Linked DNA regions of Homo sapiens: region 1 is linked to region 2. Evidence: promoter capture Hi-C in 16 types of primary human blood cells and fetal thymus (Javierre and others, 2016). All regions are on one chromosome and are shown on one strand. Each heading gives the region's core, a stretch centred on a gene start or on the middle of the fragment in contact. The rest is flanking DNA. Distances are from core to core; before and after follow the strand shown. Region 1 overlaps SKAP1 (src kinase associated phosphoprotein 1). Region 2 holds the start of PRAC1 (PRAC1 small nuclear protein).

The links. The method cuts DNA at HindIII sites, captures the fragments that hold promoters and counts their contacts. A CHiCAGO score of 5 or more calls a contact.
Region 1: a fragment that was not itself captured here is called in contact with the fragment with the promoter of PRAC1 in region 2 in 1 of 17 cell types (M2 macrophages); the score reaches 6.7 in M2 macrophages.

The regions. Positions count from the first base shown.
Region 1 is chr17:48,191,270-48,194,059 of GRCh38, reverse strand. All of the region lies in intron 4 of SKAP1 (src kinase associated phosphoprotein 1), which reads left to right. Among named protein-coding and RNA genes, the nearest start is that of MIR1203, 36 kb to the right of the region's middle. RefSeq lists an enhancer at 1,274-1,891. The HindIII fragment of the contact is 2,282 bases long and covers 122-2,403 here.
Region 2 is chr17:48,720,554-48,723,809 of GRCh38, reverse strand. It overlaps PRAC1 (PRAC1 small nuclear protein), which reads left to right and starts at 1,292. Exons shown (of 2, transcript NM_032391.3): 1 at 1,292-1,492; 2 at 1,911-2,091. The coding sequence starts at 1,418. The coding sequence ends at 2,009. It overlaps PRAC2 (PRAC2 small nuclear protein), which reads right to left and starts at 625. Exons shown (of 2, transcript NM_001282275.2): 1 at 497-625. RefSeq lists enhancers at 316-831, 832-1,346. The HindIII fragment of the contact is 8,116 bases long and covers 1-3,256 here.

The DNA.
Region 1 (2,790 bases), core at 13-2,512, 530 kb after region 2:
GATATAATGTAATACACCTTTAGACTTAGCCAAGAGGGCCATTTATTCTCAATAAATCAAAATCATTTTTATTTTTTCATGACGGTGGTGATATCTTTTCTCAGGTAATGAATAAAAAGCTTCTTTTTTTAATTGTATACTTAAATATAAATTGTTTGCCTTAAAATAGCAACTTATACAATTGTTTGCAACTTCTTCCTATTTTTATAACCGTCCTTTAAAGCATATTTTACATACTTTCTATTATGCATTAAGTAGTTCTCTGCAGATCTGTTCGTTTACCAGTAGGTGTGGATCCAGGCATACAAGATTCCTGCCTCATCACCCCATGGCATGGCTAACACTGTTCATCCTCAGGATCACTAGTTCTTGATCAGTAGGACCCTGCGCTGACACTGAAAGAGGAGGTACCTTGCATGCCACTGTGGATTCCCACCTTGGTTATTTGGATTTGTCAGATAGATCATGGAGCTAATGAGATTGAGCTCAGAGCCAACTACATTGAGAACAACTCTGTTATTGAACTCACCACACAGTACCTTGTACACAGAAGACAGTTAGTAGACTAGAGACTGATCTGACCTCATTTCCTAATTTTTTTTCCGTAGACATTCTAAACTGAGCCTATAATCCCATTTTTTCCCACTGCCCATAAGGGGAACCAGGCAAGAGAATTCCTCAATACAGATTCTGTCTAATGAATAAGAAAGCAACATAGACCGGGTGCGGTGGCTCATGCCTGTAATCCCAGCACTTTGGGAGGCCGAGGCGGCTGGATCCCCTGGGGTCAGGAGTTCAAGACCAGCCTGACCAACATGGAGAAACCCCGTCTCTACTAAAAATACAAAAAACTATTCAGGCATGGTGGTGCATGCCTGTAATCCCAGCTACTTGGGAAGCTGGAGCAGGAGAATCGCTTGAACCCGGGAGGTGGAGGTTGCAGTGAGCTGAGATCACACCATTACACTCCAGCCTGGGCGACAAGAGTGAGACTCTGTCTCAAAAAAAAGAAAGAAAGAAAGCAACATAACACATCTTACTGACTATACACAAAAACACACCATATAAAAAGCTGTTTCCAGCTCTATTCCTTTTCAGAATCTTGTTAGTGAATGACCAAGAGAAAAAATTCAGCAGCTCCTTTGGTACCCAATTTTAGCAAACTGAGTTTGACTCTTGGGGAGAGAAGGTGGTGATGGTGCTATCCCTTGTCTCCTAGAATTAGTGACTTAGAGTTACATCTCTGCTGTATTATGTCTTTGTTTCCTTAGTGGTGGCATTCTTGGGTTTCAGTTGGTGGGGAGAGAAAAACCTCATGCTGATAATGTACTGAAAGTAAATGAAATTAAATAAGCGAAGCAGTGCTCATCACTACTTCCTCCCCCCTGGGTAATTCAATTCAAGCTCTCTCTCTGATGGCAACTCACAGGGGCTGTCTCTGTCACCCCGCTGGGGCCTGGAGTCTTAACATCTAAATAAAAGTTTCACTCAGGCATTTTTTATGCTCCTGCCAGCAGGATCAGTGAGCTGGTGTGGGCACATTAATGTAATATTCATACTCACAGACTCTCCCTGCACACGAGGCAATGTCTTCCCATTTTCATAATTATAGATGTTCCATAAAATGGCATTTAAATTTGCATTAAAAAAAGGAGGTTTGAATTCTAATAGAACGTTTAACATGTCTTTTATGATTCAGACTCTTGGCATCTTTGACAAGGAGCTGTGTCTCTAAGTTTAACAAGACCTTTAAAAAGAAAAGAAAAAAAAAACCTGTGGAAAGAAGAGATGGAAACTCCCAGCTTATGGGATCGTGTTTTCCTCATCTCCCTATGTCTTTCATTTAATTTTTAGGCCTCCAGGAGCAATTTTTTTTTTTAAGAGGCAGAGTCTCGCTCTGTCCCCAGGCTGTTGTGAAGTGGTTCAATCACAGCTCACTGCAGCCTTGAACTCCTGGACTCAAGAGATCCTCCTACCTCAGCCTCCAAGTAGCTGGGACTACAGGTTTGTGCCACCACACCTGGCCTCCCCAGGAGCAATTTTTTGACAGCACTTCAGAGAGCCTTCTCTTCTGTAACTGGTCCTCACCCCACTCAATGCCTCACCCTCAGTAGAATCTGCTACTGTTTCCTTGGAGGGTGTTTTCAGAGGGGTAGGAGAAATGAAAGAACCCTAGAAAAATGAACTTTCCTTTGCTGCTGTTCATCTCATGCGTGCACCCTGAGATTGATTAAAAGGATTTATGGCAACCACATAGTTTGCTAACTGTGAAACACACAAATAAAAGTAGTCCATGAACAAGGAGGTTAACAATAAGGACCAATTGGATAAAAAATCAGGCACATAGACACACTTAAAAACAGAAAAAGAGGCTCTTCTGATCTACCTTTTTATAACTAAGCTTGAAACAGCTTTAAAGCAAAATGTAATTTTGATTGCATTTTAAATTGTCGTAGATGTTATTTTAAAACAAAAAGTAGGAAAAGCACTGAGCAAAGTGCCAGCTCATAGCCACCATTGAATAAATGTTATTGTAGGAAATGTTCAAAAAACAATTGTTTGAAAAAAAGTTATTTCAACCATAACTCTCAAGATACTCTATAGGTGGCCCAGTTGATTCATATGTAGTTATGCCTTACTTTGTTTTGTATTTGGTTTGCTTCATAAATTATTTAAGACAATCCAAAAGAGATTTGAGTTCTGGGACTAAAAAGAATAAATGTTAAAATACCGCTAGCCCAATTACCTTCATTTTGCCTAATTAAGAAATGTGGAGTGTGTCCTTAAAAG
Region 2 (3,256 bases), core at 43-2,542:
CCGAATAAGGGAGTAGTGGCGCAATGCGTAGAAACTACCTCCGGAAGCTCTTTTTGAATCTCGGTTCCAGCACCCGCAACGCAGAGCGCGAACCTGAGGCTCCATCTTTCGGGTTTTACTCCGGCTGGCTAGCGCTTCCGGGAACCCTGCGAGGCCGCCGCCAGCCGAGAATCCGCCCCGCCTTCCCTGCAGGCGATCCCTACTCCAAATAGTAGTTCCCGGGCCGGAAGCTGGAAAGCCCTCGAAGCAGGAAAAAGCCTCATCCAGGCCCCCCAGTTCTCGGGAGCAGCTCCAGCTTTCCTTCCCCAACCTAGAGCAAACTTCTCTTCCCTGCAGCTCCCCTCCCCCCCTTCATTAAAGTTATATTGAAGGTGCTAAGTGCTGCACTCTAATTGGGTTTCCTTCAGGGGAGACCCTGTGCCCCCCGGCCCCAACCCGTCCTGTCTAATAGAAATCCCCGAGCTGCAACCGCGAATTAAATAGATGAACTCGTTACCGTAAACTTGCAATAAAGCCCGGAGGCGACTGCTGCGGAGGGGGCAAAAGAAGGTTTCGTTGTTTTTGAAATTTATACCATTCTCACCCTCCCGAACAGTCGCTCTCCAGGGAAGAGGGGAGAAAGCTCGGGAGCGGCCCCGGGCCTCTAGCCCAAAAGCAGGACACCCCGCCCCTCCCCCCAGGCACTGGCCTGGGCCTGAGACAGATTTAAAACATCCAATGAGGAACCGATGCCAGCCTTTCTTCCTCTCTCCCTACCAGTTAGTTCTGTGTAGAGGGGATGAGGGGGAGGGGACGAAGTGGTCGGGGGAGAGTGAGGGAAAGAATTCCACCATTACCTTCTCTCCTCCCCTAAACTGCCCCCGAACTGGGAGGTGCACAGGGGGCAGCAAAAGAGTTTAATCGCCCCTAGAATAATGCTGGCGCCCAGCCTGGGGGGAGGGTCAGGGACTTTGCCATTGAACTTGAAGTTCCAGGCTGGTGGTCTCCACCGCCCCCGCCCCCATTTTCCTAAAAGTTTTATGGGAAGAGGGAGGAAGGTGAGGGGAAGAGAGGACTTCTCTGGCCTTGGGAAAGAGGGAGGAAGCCAATCAGGGGAGGAAGGGCCACAGCAACCAGGAGGTCCAGGGAGATTCGGAGGTTTGCGGGGAGGCGAGGAGGCTGCTGGGAGGAGACACTCCAGCTTTCGCCCCTACTTGCAGCTATGAGGTGGGGAGCCACCAACCGCAGGCCTTCTTACTGAGCCCCGCCCCAGACTCTACAGGGAGAGGGGCACCCAGTGCTGTGCTCCCGTCCTTCCTCTCCTAGCCTAAGGCGTGCAAACAGAGCGCCACTGGGAGGCTGAAACCTTTAGGCCGATGCTTGCTTGCAAGGTCAGGCAAGCTGGATTCTGGTCCCCACCTTTGCAGAGAGAACAGCGATGTTGTGCGCCCATTTCTCAGATCAAGGACCGGCCCATCTTACTACCTCCAAGAGTGCTTTTCTCTCTAATAAGGTAAACTGATCGGTGGGCCAAGGGCGTTATCGACGGATCGCTCAGTATGGTAGCTGCATCAGGAGGCCCTGGGAGAGGGTCTCCCAGGAATTTGGGAGCCTTCAGAAGTTTTGGGAAACAAGGGAAGGGTGAGCAGCAGGCTTTCACCGATACCACCTGGCGGGAGCACCTACTCGCGGTTCCTGGAGAGACCGGCAGCCGCCCTGGGCAGAAAGGGACAAAGAAAATGTTTCGCAGCACGCGGGACCTGCAGGACCTAGGCGGGGGAGAGGCTTGGGAGTGGGAACTAGCACCCGCTGTAAGGTCTGCCATAAGACTTAATGTTTGTCTCCAATGGGATGGAGTCCTGGCATAAGCAAAATTAATATTGATAACGTTATTATTATTTAAAATTTGTAAATATTGTAAAATATTTTAGAAAACATCTACTTTGAAACATCTACTGGGCGAGACCAGGAGTGATGGCTCAGCCTGTAATTCTGGAATTTCGGGAGGCCGAGGCAGGAAGATTCCTTGAGCACAGGAGTTCCAGACCAGCCTGGGCAATGTAGCAAGACGCTGTCTCTATTTATACAATAAAATTTTTTTAAAAAAGGAAACTGGGTGAAAGTTAACTGTGATTATAACAATTTTTCTTTTTTAAACTAACTCATCCTTAAGGCAAAAGCTCTGGGCCTTAAAAAAATAAAAACGGGCCAGGCATAGTGGCTCATGGCTGTAATCCCAGCACTTTGGGAGGCTGAAGTGGGCAGATAACTTGAGGCCAAGAGTTTGAGATCAGCCTGGCCAACATAGTGAAAACTGTCTCTACTAAAAATACAACAATTAGCTGGGCATGGTGGCTCACACCTGTAATTCCAGCTACTCAAGAGGCTGAAGCACAAGAATTGCTCGAACCTGGGAGGTGGAGGTTGCAGTGAGCTGAGATTATGCCATTGCACTCCAGCCTATGTGACAGAGTGAGACTCTGTGACAAATAATAATAATAATAATAATTGCACCTTTTTCTCTGGGCCCCTGGCTTCCTTATTCCCTTTCCTGCACCCTCTCAGAAGCTCTGCCTTGCCAAGTGTGGGATCAATGCCACAGCAGGCATGTGTGCGCACAGGGGCTCTGGGTCCAGTACAGAAGCAGGCTGGGGACCACATGCTCACATCTTCAGCCAACCACTGATATTGCCAAGTCATTGGTCTTGGGGTGGGCACAGTAATCCACAAAAACACTCAGGACTCACCTAACTCTCTTCTCCCCACAGCTGGCTCCTTCCCTGCCAGTTCCCCCTCCCATAATGACAAAACCCACAATTGAGTGAGCACTTTATAACCTAAAGAAATTGAAACTAAGAGGGTAAGTTACTTGATCTGGGTCCCAAAACAGGAGCGCTTAACCTCTACCACCAACTGAAAAAATAGAAAGCCCAGGGACTCCTCTATTGTCAACATACCTCTCCCTGCAAGGCCCTTCAGACACTAACAAGCACCTGCTTCCATCCGGAGTCACCCAGCTGAGATCACACAGGTGCACCCAAACACCCTAGACCCAGCCCCTCCTCAGGCACTGGACAGATCTGCATATATGCAAACAGGGGATTAAACACGTGTGGACATTTTTGTCAACCAACTACTCATTAATTGAGTATGCAAAATCTTCCACTAGGGGTGGAAGACAGGAGGAAAGAGTTGGAAATATGCTCTCCCTTCCCACCAGGCCTGACTCCTATGCTGGTAAATCTTGGGTCTGCAGCTTCCCCATATGTGACCTGAG